Regions from separate parts of the Homo sapiens genome. Here region 1 is linked to region 2. Evidence: promoter capture Hi-C in 16 types of primary human blood cells and fetal thymus (Javierre and others, 2016). All regions are on one chromosome and are shown on one strand. Each heading gives the region's core, a stretch centred on a gene start or on the middle of the fragment in contact. The rest is flanking DNA. Distances are from core to core; before and after follow the strand shown. Region 1 overlaps HEXD (hexosaminidase D). Region 2 holds the start of SECTM1 (secreted and transmembrane 1).

Evidence for each region. The method cuts DNA at HindIII sites, captures the fragments that hold promoters and counts their contacts. A CHiCAGO score of 5 or more calls a contact.
Region 1: a fragment that was not itself captured here is called in contact with the fragment with the promoter of SECTM1 in region 2 in 4 of 17 cell types (M1 macrophages, M0 macrophages, M2 macrophages and 1 more); the score reaches 6.4 in M1 macrophages.

The regions. Positions count from the first base shown.
Region 1 is chr17:82,420,284-82,426,328 of GRCh38, reverse strand. It overlaps HEXD (hexosaminidase D), which reads right to left. Exons shown (of 13, transcript NM_001330542.2): 3 at 1,826-1,935. It overlaps HEXD-IT1 (HEXD intronic transcript 1), which reads right to left and starts at 1,004. Exons shown (of 1, transcript NR_170223.1): 1 at 1-1,004. It overlaps LOC124904091 (a long non-coding RNA gene), which reads left to right. Exons shown (of 3, transcript XR_007065958.1): 3 at 1-417. RefSeq lists an enhancer at 1,511-2,346. The HindIII fragment of the contact is 7,971 bases long and covers 1-6,045 here.
Region 2 is chr17:82,329,765-82,336,448 of GRCh38, reverse strand. It overlaps SECTM1 (secreted and transmembrane 1), which reads left to right and starts at 2,683. Exons shown (of 5, transcript NM_003004.3): 1 at 2,683-2,749. RefSeq lists enhancers at 1,260-1,329, 3,377-4,179 and a silencer at 4,056-4,340. The HindIII fragment of the contact is 7,811 bases long and covers 1-4,938 here.

The DNA.
Region 1 (6,045 bases), core at 1,387-3,886, 90 kb before region 2:
ATACCTTGCTGGGCAAAGGCCCAGCTGAAGGAACATCCTGATCATATTCTGCTGGGAACAAGGACCCAACTGCCTCATCATGGGAACATCTCTCAACATCTTCCCAGGCAGAAGCCCTACTGCCCAAACCCCTCCCGTCCAGGCCTGTAAGTACCCCAGCCTGTAAGCGGCGGTGGGCTCTGGCATTAAGCTGGTCCCCCCTCTGTAGGTTTCTGCACTATACCTCTGTTGCTGTAGAGACGCCCTCTCTCTCTCTGTCTTTCTTTAACCCTCGCCTTCCCTTTAAAAAAACCTAACACCAGGCTCAAGCCATCCTCCTATCTCAGCCTCCTGAGTAGCTTGGACTACAGCCCCATGCCACTATCCATGGCTATTTTTTGCATTTTATGTAGAGATGGGGTTTCACCATGTTGCCCAGGCTGGTCTCGAACTCCTGAGCTCAAGTGATCCACCCACCTCGGCCTCCCAAAGTGCTGGGATTATAGGCGTGAGCCACTGCACCCGGCCTAATTTTTGTATTTCACATAGAGATGGGGTTTTACCATGTTACCCAGGCTGGTCTCAAACTCCTGAGCTCCAGTGATCTGCCCACCTTGGCCTCCCAAATTGCTGGGATTACAGGCGTGAGCCACTGCTCCTGGCCTTCACATTTTCTTATATGCTTATTGGCCTTTTTTGTTTCTTCCTTTGGGATTGGCCAGTTAATGTCCATTGTGCATTTATCTTTGGGGCCGTTATTGATTTTCACAGAGACCTGTGATTTTAGCATTAAGCAGGGGCCTCCCATCTCCACCACACCTGATTTTATTGATTTTGATTCTCTCCCCTTTAATTCTTCTCTTCTCTAACTCAAGGCTCAACTGTGGCCTGAAGAGCAGCCCCTCCCTGCGCGGAGGCCTCCTCCAGCATCCTCCAGCCTTCTCTAGCTCAGCCTTCTACAGCCTCCTCCAGCCTTCTCCAGCCTCCTCTGACCTTCCCTGGCCTCCTCCAGCCTTCTCTAGCCCAGCCTTCTCTGGCCTTCTCTAACCTTATCTAGCCTTCTCTAACCTCTAGCCCAGCCTTCTCCAGCCTTCTCCAGCCTTCTCTAGCCTCCTCCGGCCTTCTCTAGCCCAGCCTCCTCCAGCCTCCTCCAGCCTTCTCCGGCCTCCTCCAGCCTCCTCCAGCCTTCTCTAGCCTCCTCCAGCCTTCTCCAGCCTTCTCTGGCCTCCTCCAGCCTCCTCCGGCCTTCTCTAGCCCAGCCTCCTCCAGCCTTCTCCAGCCTTCTCCAGCCTTCTCTGGCCTCCTCCAGCCTCCTCCAGCCTTCTCTAGCCTCCTCCAGCCTTCTCCGGCCTTCTCTAGCCCAGCCTTCTCTGGCCTTCTCTAACCTTCTGTAGTCCAGCCTTCTCCAGCCTTCTCCAGCCTTCTCTAGCCTTCTCCAGCTTTCTCTAGCCTTCTCTAGCCCAGCCTTCTCTGGCCTTCCTTCTCTGGCCTTCTCTAACCTTCTCTAACCTTCTCTAACCTTCTGTAGTCCAGCCTTCTCCCATCAACAGAAGAAACGCCTGCAGGACAGAGACAGGAACTGCAGCTCTTCCCTGTAGGGGGCGCTGCTGATGCTTACTTTCCCTTTAAATGTTTCAAAATTCTCTCCAGTGAATGTTTGAAATGAAACTTTGTTTTCATACAATTAAAGAGATGAATTTAAAAAGACAAAAAAGGAATGTACCCACCACTGTTCAGTTCCTGACTGTGCCACCCGCACCTCCAGGTTGCTGCTCCTCCTGCCCTGCGGAACCCCCCCTTCCCCGCTTTCACGCCGCGCCCCTGTACCTGCCACGGGCAGTGTTACCTGTAGGCGTACTTGGCCCTCAGCAGCCTCAGAGGGCCCTCGTAGGGAAACATGTCTTCATACTCAATGAGGAGGCCGTTTGCACCTAGCGCACGGAACAGAGGAAAAATCTGGGGGGTAAACAGGGAGGGGTTAGGAAGAAGTGGCTGCTGGAGCACGATGTGGCAAGTCCACAGCAGGGAGACGCCTTCCCTTTCAGCCTGTGGAGACTGTGGGAGTTGCTACTTCTATTTCTCCTGGGAACCTTAAATCCGGAATGTGTACTTTACGTTATGCCAAATGAAACTCCCCGTTCCAGTGACTATTTTGCACAGAAGGGGAGATATGCTATGAAACAGGGCTGCTACTCAACGCGCTGGTGGCTCAGCTTGGGAGGGACGGGTCCGGCCAGCAGGGAGCCACCAAGAAGCAGCTCTTCATGCACGGCGGCCCAGCAAGGCAGCCAGGCTGAGGGGCACCAGCAAGGCATGGGGGACAGGGCAGCCAGGCTGAAGGAGAATGGCAAGGCATGGGGGACGGGGCAGGAGGAGCCGGGGCAGGGGGAGCAGGGCTCTGAAGGGTTGGGGTCAGCACCTGGGGGAGGTGAGAGAGGGGTGCAGAACTCATTCGTTCCTGGTCTGTACTCATGGGGTCCCTTCCCCCTTATTCTCCTCCCCACTTCCTTGTCTTTCTCTCTTTTTTTTTTTTTTTTGAGATGGAGTCTCGCTCTCTCGCCCAGGCTGGAGTGGAGTGGCGTGATCTTGGCTCGTTGCAACCTCTGCCTCCCGGGTTCAAGCGATTCTCCTGCCCCAGCCTCCCGAGTAGCTGGGATTACAGGCGCCCGCCCCGATGCCCAGCTAATTTTTGTATTTTTAGTAGAGACGGGGTTTCACCATGTTGGCCAGGCTGGTCTCGAACTCCTGACCTCAGGTAATCTGCCCCTCGGCCTTCCAAAATGCTGGGATTACAGGTGTGAGCCACTGTGCCCGGCCTCTCTCTTTTTTTTAACAGATGGGGTCTCACTCTGTTGCCCAGGCTGGAGCGTGCTGGCATGATCATGGCTCGCTGCAGCACCCAACTCCTGGGCTCAAGTGATCCTCCAGCCTCAGCCTTCCAAGGAGCTGGGACTACAGGCACATGCTAGGCCTCCTGGATGACACACATGCAGGAGAACTAAGGAGCCCCAGCTGACAGTTGGGATGAACTGCCGGACATGGAAGGCCACGCGGACCATCAGAGGTTTCTAGATGTTACGGGGCTGTGACCACCTGAGGGCACCTCGGTCAGAAAAGCAGAATCACGCAGCCAACCCACAGAAACACAAGGGGTGATGAATGGGGACCTCAAGTTTGGGGAGATCTGTCACGCAGCAACAGATGATGGAAACAGGGACTCCAGCTGTGTGTAAGTTGGATCTTCTTTGCCTATATTCAATTGTCAGAACGCCTTTCCTTTCTTTTTTTTTTTGAGATGGAGTTTTGCTCTTGTCCCCCAGGATGGAGTGCAGTGGCACGATCTCAGCTCACCACAACCTCCGCCTCCCGGGTTCAAGCAATTCTCCTGCCTCAGTCTCCCGAGTAGCTGAGATTACAGGCACCTGACACCACGCCTGGCTAATTTTTGTATTTTTAATAGAGACAGGGTTTCACCATGTTGGTCAGGCTGGTCTCGAACTCCTGACCTCAGGTGATCCACCCTCCTCAGCCTCCCAAAGTGCTGGGATTATAGGCATGAGCCACCGCGCCTGGCCCAAGTCAAAATGCCTCTTCATCAGCTGTATGTAAGTTCAGTCTTCTTTGCCATATTCAATTTGTCAGAACGCCTTTTCATCTCTGTTTGCTTTTTTCTTTTCTGTCATCTGTTTCCAAATACTGCACTTTCCATGGTGTCTACTCACTTGTACACTTCTTATAGTTTAGTCTTCATTAAAAACATTGTTTTTTCCTTATAATTCATTTCTGAGCTCCACAGGCAATTTTTTACAACCTCCTTTTGTCTGATTACCACATTTCTGGGCTTTTTTTTTTTTAGACTGAGTCTTGCTCTATCGCCCAGGCTGGAGTGCAGTGGCACGATCTTGGCTCACTGCAACCTCCACCACCCAGGTTCAGGTGATTCTCATGCCTCAGCCTCCCAAGTAGGTGGGATTACAGTTGTGAGCCGCTGAGCCTGGCCTGGGCTTTTCTATTTCTGATTTATGCTGTTCTTTCACAGCTTCCGTCATCTTCTGAGTATCTTTTATCTTGTTATGAAATATTATGGAACAGTGTTTCCTGCTGGGTGGGCCTGTGTGTCTGGAGCACCTTCACTGCTGCAATGCTATTCAGATCATCTTCTTTTTTCTTTTTTTTTTTTTTTGAGACAGAGTCTCACTCTTGTCACCCAGGCTGGAGCGCAGTGGCACAATCTCGGCTTACTGCAACCTCCACCTCCCAGGTTCAAGTGATTCTCCTGCCTCAGCCTCTCGAGTAGCAGGATTACAGGCGCCGCCACCACACGGGGCTAATTTTTGGTATTTTTAGTAGAGACACTGTGTTGGCCAGGATGGTCTTCATCTCCTGACCTTGTGATCCACCTTCCTCGGCCTCCCAAAGTGCTGGGATTACAGGCGTGAGCCACCGTGCCTGGCCTTCTTTTTTCTTACCTATCTTTGTATGATGTTAAACAACACTCTTTTTTGCTTCTTTTTTTCTTTTTTTGAGATGGTGTCTTGCTCTGTCACCTTGGCTGGAGTGCAGTGGCGCAATCTTGGCTCACTGCAACCTCTGCCTCCTGAGTTCAAGCAATTCTCCTGCTTCAGACTCCCAAGTAGCTGGGACTACAGGCATGTGTCACCATGCCTTGCTAATTTTTGTATTCTTAGTAGAGACGGGGTTTCTCCATGTTGCCCAGGCTGGTCACAAGCTCCTGACCTCAGGTGATCTGTCCGTCTTGGCCTCCCAAAGTGCCTGGATTACAGACGTGAGCCACCATGGCCAGCCTGTTGCTCATTTTTAAGAACAGGCTCTTGTGTTTGCAATGGTGACAGGCCAGCCTCAAGGCCCCCTCCTCTACTGCTGCCACGCGGTATTAGAAACTGCAGGCTCTGTGTAGCTGCTTCTGCAGTGTTTTTTGACCTCCACCTCTTCTGGACGCCTTTCCCCAGGACCTTTCCCTTCGCTGTTCCTGCCCAGTTCAATGTGGATGCTTTCCCTGTTTTGTCCTTAGTGGGGGGCGCTGTTCCTCTGGAAGGAAGTTTTGTTACGTATTTCTGAGAGTTTTGCAGCCTTGGGCCTCCCCTGCACCCTCCTGGATGTTTCATTACGTATTTCTGACAGCCTTGCAGCCTCGGCCTCCCCTGCACCCTCCTTTAAGTCTCTTTGCACTCAATCTCAGACGGGAGCCATTAAAACTCTGCCCCACTTCTCGCTATGGGAGACCTTTACTTACTTTTGAGGCTATTTTCTGGGTCCTCTGGTCATAGCACTGTTGGAGTTTCCCTCTTTCCTCTGTTACCTCCTGCTTGGCCACTAACCCCATACAGGTGTTATTCTGTCTGTGGTTTGGTCCCACCCACTTGTAGTTTGGGATCCATGGGGACACCCTGATACCTAATTTTGTTGAAGAGTGTCTTAGTTTTCTAGGGCTGCTGTAATAAATGACCATAAACTGGGTGGCTTGGCCGGGTGCGGTGGCTCACACCTGTAATCCTAGCACTTTGGGAGGCTGAGGCGGGTGGATCACGAGGTCAGCAGTTCAAGACCAGCCTGGCCAATGTGGTGAAACCCCGTCTCTACTAAAAATACAAAAATTAGCCAGGCATGGTGGCAGGCACCTGTAATCCCAGCTACTCCAGAGGCTGAGGCAGGAGAATTGCTTGAACCCGGGAGGTGGAGGTTGCAGTAAGCCGAGACTGCGCCATTGTACTCCAGCCTGGATGACAGAGCGAGACTCCGTCTCAAAAAACAAACAAACAACTGGGCGGCTTGACACAACAGAAATTTATTCTCTCACAGTTCTGGAGGCCCTAAGTCCAAAATCCAGGTGTCAGCAGACCCAGCTCTCCCTGAAGGCTGAAGAGGAGGACCCTTCCTTGCTTCTCTCTAGCTTCTGGTGATCGTCAGCTGTCCTCGGCATCCTGGGGTTCGTGGCACGTCATGACCATCTTGGCTGCTGGCACCGCGGGGCATCCTCCTGGGTCTTCACACTGCCTTCCCTCCGTGTGTCTCAGGCTCTAAATTTCCCTCTCCTCATAAGGATGC
Region 2 (6,684 bases), core at 1,434-3,933:
ATAAATAAATAAAAGCTGGGCGTGGCGGCACGTGCCTGTAGTTCCAGCTACTCAGGAGGCTGAGGTAGGAGAATCGCTTGAACTAGGGAGGCGGAGGTTGCAGTGAGCCGAAATCGCACCACTGCACTCCAGCCTGGGCGACAGAGCAAGACTCTGTCTCCAAAAAAAAGAAAAGCAAATGCTCCAGGACCTTGGGGATTTTAAGAATATGCTGCCGAATAATTTGGAGAGTTAAACAGAAAATCATAACTGAAATCTACAAATTCCTCGAACAGAAAGGAAATGAAACTCCACATGTCACCTGGCACAGCAGAGGCTGTGATTCAAGGACAGGCTGAGGGTGAATGAATCCACACATCCGCTCTAAGATGCCTGATCCCAGCATTGTATAGAAATGGAAAGATACGGCCGGGTGCAGTGGCTCACGCCTGTAATCCAGCACTTTGGGAGGCCAAGATGGGCGGATCACAAGGTCAGGAGATCCAGACCATCCTGGCTAACACGGTGAAACCCCGTCTCTACTAAAAATACAGAAAAATTAGCTGGGCGTGGTGGCGGGCGCCTGTAGTCCCAGCTACTCAGGAGGCTGAGGCAGGAGAATGGTGTGAACCCAGGAGGCAGAGCTTGCAGTGAGCCGAGATTGCGCCACTGCACTCCAGCCTGGGCGACAGAGCGAGACTCCGTCTCAAAACAAAAAAAAGAAATGGAAAGATACTGCCCAGATGTGGTGGCTCACACCTGTAACCCCAGCACTTTGGGAGGCCAAGGCAGGCGGACCACCTGAGGTCAGGAGTTCGAGACCAGCTTGGCCAACATGATGAAATCCTATTTCTACTAAAACTACAAAAATTAGCTGGGCGTGGTGATACATGCCTGCAATCCCAACTACTCAGAAGGCTGAGGTGGGAGAATCAGTTGAACCTGGGAGGCAGAGGTTGCAGTGATCGAGACTGCAGCACTGCACTCCAGCCTGGGCAACAGAGACTCCGTCTCAAAAAAAAGAAAGAAATAAACGTGAGTGGATGGCTGTGCTGTTTGTATGGACCAGGAAAACTTCTAGAAGGATAGGTAAGGCAGTGTCCATAACTCAACCTGGGAATTGAAGCCAGGGTGGGGAGGAAAAGGCAACAGTTGGTTTCATTCTATTTTGTTTCTGTGCCTGTATTACTTCCAAAATAAACAAACTAGTTTCACTTTCACAACATGAAATGCTTTATCAGGATATGCGTTTTCCTCCAACCCCCAGTGGTGTCCCCTCACGGGACAAAAGCCTGCCAGCCTTCAGCTGCCCTCCAGAGCCTCACGGTGCAGGTGCTCCTGCCTAAGCAGCCGGACCCCCCTGCCCCCAGGAACTGCAGCCCCCTCTGAGTTGAGAGATCTAGTAGGCAGGAAAAAAGGAGAAGGAAGCTGTGGCTGCTGGGGGATGTGGCCTCGGGGACAAGCCCCTCTGTGCAGAGGACGTGGGCAGGTGGGATTTCAGCCCCCTCTCCAGCATCTCACTGGCAGCCAGGGTGGCTGGGGTTTCCCCGAGGGCGGGGGCTGGGGAATCTGACCTCTGTGCCCCGGCCATGGTGCCGTCTTGCTGGGAGGATGACAGGCTGTGTTTCACCTGCCAATTTGGCGACAGTTTCTCTTTTGGAACATCCCGGGGGACTTTGTTCTGTGCCACCCACCTCTGGACCCTGGGTCTGATGGCTGAGCTGCAGGCTCCAAGGTTCAGCGTCCAGTCTGGCCCTGCTCCGTCCATTCCCCACATTTGAGGGTTTCCCGGAGTTTGGTTCTGCTTCTTCCTCTCTTCCATGAAACTGGGGGCATTGCCCACGCCCCAGTGTCCCCCATCATCTGCCCGGTGGGGACTTGCCCACTCACGTGACTGCAGCCTGTGGGGCCTCCTCCTAGTGTCCCGAAGATACCTGGTCATCCTTGACCCCGCCCGCACCTGCCCGCGTGCCCCCTCGGGTTCTAGTGGAGGACGTGGCCCGCCTGCCACCCCGCCAGGCGCCGGGTCCTCCAGGCCTCCTCGAGCCACCTCCTGCCCACCTGGGATGTCTGTGGGTTCCCGGCCCGGATGCGTCTTGGAGCCTTCTACCCGCACCCCAATCTCCTGCCCCAACAGGCTGGGCCCCTCCTCCCGGGCTGGCCAGGCCAGCACCTCCGCAGGGGCCGCAGGACGCCTGAAGGCCCAGGCCGCAGGTGCAGGACCCTCTGCGGGGGAGCTGGGGGACATCACTCCTCTGCTCTGCGCGCTTTTATGAAAGGGCCTCTGACCCTCCGGGGGTCCAGCTCACTCTGCCCGCGCACTCCCAGGCATCTGGGGGCCGCCCCCCGCCCTCCCTCCCCGCGGCCCACTCGGCCCGCCCAGCTCGCCCCGTGCACAGACTCGAGGCCTCCAGGAGCGGAGCCAAACAGCCCCGCGGGGAACGCGCGCCGCACGCGAGCTGGACCCGCCCAGGCACGAACTCTCCTGGAAAAATGCTCCCGGCGGCTTTCCTGCTTCCTTTAGCGTGAACCGCGGGTGCGGTGCCTCCCGTGAAAATAATAAATTCACCGTCACGCTTGTTGTGAACGCGGGTGGTTCCCGAAACTTGGAGGCTTCCCGTAAACCCAGCTCCTTCCTCATCTGGGAGGTGGGTCCCGCGCGGGTCCGCCGCCTCCTCCCTGGCCCCTCCCTCTCGTGTCTTTCATTTTCCTGGGGCTCCGGGGCGCGGAGAAGCTGCATCCCAGAGGAGCGCGTCCAGGAGCGGACCCGGTGAGGCGCGGAGAGGGGCGGGCGGGGGAACCAGAGGGGCGGGCTCGGTGCTGGGGACTCGGTGCTGGGGACTCGGTGCTGGGGACTCGGTGCTGAGGGCCCGGTGCTGGGGACTCGGTGCTGGGGGCTCGGTGTTAGGGCCTCTTGGTGCACTGGGGTTGCCGGTCCGCGCAGGGATGGGGACTCTGGGGCTGCGGCGCCTCTGCCTCTGGGACCGTCACCCCCCGCTGGCCCTGAGCGTGCGTCGCAGGCCAGGCGGGCGGGGTCGCAGCGGGCGTACCCGAGTATGGGCGGGAACGAGCTGCCGGCCGGTGTGGGGACCCGCGTCCCTGCCCTGTGCGCCAGGCTCGACTCTTGAAGGGACAGAGGCGGCGTCTCGGACCCGGGGCTCCCCTAAGTCCGATGGGTCGGAGCCCCCTCCTCCCTTCCCGGTCCTCGGCCTCACCCGGGGTTCCCTGCGCCGTCGCTGCGACCAAGCTGGGAGCAAAACGCACTCGCTCATATGCGTGCACACAAGCTGGTGGACACACGCACATGAGCACACGCAGGCACGCGTGGACTGTTGCACACTCCACAGCCACAGCCTCGTGTGCACTCACAGCAAACTCATGAAACAGGAACCGTGAGGCTTCCCTCACCCGGCAGGCCCTCAGCTGCCCGTTCTCACGCGGGTTTTGCTGACTCCGCAGTAATCACCACATTCAGTTCCTTGCCCACTACTGGTGAATCACCTGCAGCTTGAGAAGCACGTTTTCTGCCGGTGGTCAGCAGAGGATCCCCGGCTTCTAGGAGGCCCAGGGCGACCGGCTGCAGGAGCCCGCGTAGGAGGCCTGTCTCCAGCAGGGCGGGGGTGGTGGCAGGGCCTCTCCACGGGGCTGCTGCTGAGCCCAGAGCGGGAGGACAGGAGGCCACCAGCAGAGGGGACAGGTGAACAGGTGCTGAGCAGGAAGGGTTAGCCCGGTCTAGCCCCAGGCCTGGGGGGCTTTGCTGCTCACCTGGGGTCCCCTCTGGGCCTGGCTCAGCAGAGACCAGGGCAGAGCCGTCCACACCGTGGGCCTGGGTGGGGTCCATGGCCTCTGCAGGCTGCAGCTGTCTTCTGAGAGGTGTTGGTGTGCTCATTCTCGGTAGAGACGTGGGGTCACCTGTGTTCCCTGAGCCCCTGCAGCAGCTGGGAAAGCAGTGTCAGCCACCCCTCAGGTGCTGTGGGGGTACAGAGTCCACTGACCACACAGGAGGACCCCAATGAACCCAGCCCGAGGGGGCCGGAGCTTCCACACACCCAGCACCCATGGGAGCCGGGACAGGCAGGCGCCCGGGGCACCAGGGAGCGGGAACAGGCATGCGCAGGCGTGCTGGGCGGTGCGTGAACTTTCCTAGGCGTGTCACTGGCATGGCTCCAAGCCTGCGCATCATCGCTTGTCAGGGAGCACTCAGACCCTGCCGTGTCTGGTGCCGGCGCCTCAGATACCGACCCCTGTGTTCGTGGTTTGAGAGAAATCTGATTGCCGCCTCCATCTTTTCCCGCTCTAGAAGTTTGTTTTTTGTTTTGTTTGGTTTGAGACGGAGTTTCGCTCTTGTTGCCCAGGCTGGAATGTAGTGGCCAGATCTTGGCTCACCACAACCTCCACCTCCCTGGTTCAAGCGATTCTCCTGCCTCAGCCTCCCAAGTAACTGGGATTACAGGCGTGCACCACCACGCCCGGCTAATTTTTTTGTATTTTTAGTAGAGACGGGGTTTCACCACGTTGTTCAGACTGGTCTCAAACTCCCGACCTCAGGTGATCCACCTGCCTCAGCCTCCCAAAGTGCTGGGATTGCAGGCATGCGCCACCGCGCCCGGCCCACTCTAGAAGTTTTGAGGCTCCGTGCGCCTCGTCTCCCTGTACCTGGTCTCCCTGTGCCAGGTCTCCCTGTGCCACACACGGAGCTGCCCGGCCAGTCACCGCCCACCTGGCCACTTTCCCTGGGGCCGCGCCCTGCCGCCTGCCCTCTCTCTGATTTTTAGCCACTGCGTGGCATTCAACTCAAGCCCACGCCTCTGGTCAGGAGGATGGCAGGAGAGGACTCAGGCAGACGGGCAGAGTGGCAGAGCTGCCAACAAAAACGCAGGATACCCAGTAACATCTGAGTTTGAGATCGTTAATCGTGTTTTAATATAAGTGTGTCCCGAGTGTCCCACGGGACAAGCTTTCACCAGGACATCATTGGTTGTTTATCTGAGACTCAGATGTGACCAGATGTGCCTGGTGACCTGAGAGGGGCCTGTGTTGCCAGGGTGCGTTTTCTTCTGATAAACGGAGCAAATTCCCACAGCAACCCAAAGTCGCTGACACCTGCTGCCCAGACAGAGCTGGGGCCACGCATGGTCCGCAGCCTGAAGCCTCGGGGTAGAGCCAGACCTGCCGCTCTCCTCCCGGTCTCCCCCCAGCTCCCTACCCCCTGAGCCCTTCAAAGTCATTCTCAAGCCAAAGACAGGGGTCTTCCAGGCCCAGGGCTCCCCTCCACGGCTGACTCATTCCACACCTTTCCCGCCACTTGCCGGGTGTGGACCGACAGGAAGGGCACCGCCACCTGCTCCTAGTACCCTCCAGCCCATCCCTTGCCGCCCTTCACCCCTGGCTGGACAAGGGTCAGGGTCGCCAACATTGGAGGGCACTCAGTGGGGAGCTGGTGAAGGTGCTGGGAGGAAGGGAGGACCGGGGAGAGGCAGTGAGAGGACCCGCGTGTGAGAAGCAGCGGCCGCCACCACAGTTGGGCTAAAGGGACTTGGTGGGGAGGCAGCATCTCCGGAACGGTGCAGTCCAGGCCGCCAGGGGCTGAGACCATGGAGAGGATGAGGCCAGAAAGACGGACAGTGCCAGCTTCTCACTCCCACCCCCCTCTCCCCAACCACTGCAGCCCAGGGCCCCAGGTCTTCAGGAAGCAATCGGCAGGGAGGCTAGGAGCCAGCACTGCAGGGTCCACCCTCGGTGGCAGAGGCATCTAGGAGCAGCTGTAGCCCCCGAGAGCAGAGGCTCCACCGAGCTGCTGGCCCCATGGAATGCACAGCGGGCAGACTTGGGACACTCAGGGTGGAGGGGAGGCAGATGCAGCCACTGCCAGGCGGGAGGAGCTTGGCATGAAGCCAGGTGCGTGCAGCTGGCCCTTGGGGGCCTCCAGGACCCAGCTGCTGAGGTCTGGCTCAGGGTGCAGCTCTCTGCCGAGTCAGGGCTGACTCAGGACACAGACGGGTGGCAGAGCCAGCACCTGGGTGGGCAGGTGGGGTGGACGCAGCGCTGTCGGGGCTCTCTGGGGATCTGTGACCTTTGGCTGTGTGCCCAGAATTCCCACCCCTAACACATGGCAGGGGCAGTCCCTGGAAGCATTTGTGAAACAGACTCAGATGGCCTCCAGGCTCCAGGTGAGGGCAGGACTCCCCAGAGCAGCCTGGGGAGAGCAGCAGGGCATCCCCTCCCGGACACGGTCGGCGGGGTGGTGCGGAGAGCAGTGGGGGAGCCCCCAGCAGCCCCGACCCTCCCTGCTGTCCATCTGCACGGTTCCAAGGTGGGTGGCTGAGCTGGCATCGTGGAGCGTGGGGTGAGGGAGCCGGACCCAGGCCCCCTGGGGTCTCCTTGTGTGAACCTCACCTCCATGCAGGGGTCTGCAGGTGGCCTGGGTCTCCCACCGCACTGGGGGTGGGGGTTCTGTGGTCGGCTACCAGTCCCCAAAGATGTCACGTCCTCATCCCAGAACCTGACATGGCAAAGAGACTATGCAGATGGGATGAAGCCTCGGGTGCTGAGCTGGGGCATGTGTCCTGGGTCACCCAGGGGGGCCCTTGATGCCATCACAGGGTCTCCAGGAGAGGGAGAGAGGAGGGGGAGTCAGGGAGATGAGGGAAGCAGCTGGGGGGCAGTGGTGGGGAGATGGCAGAGGGGCCATGAGCCGAGGGATGC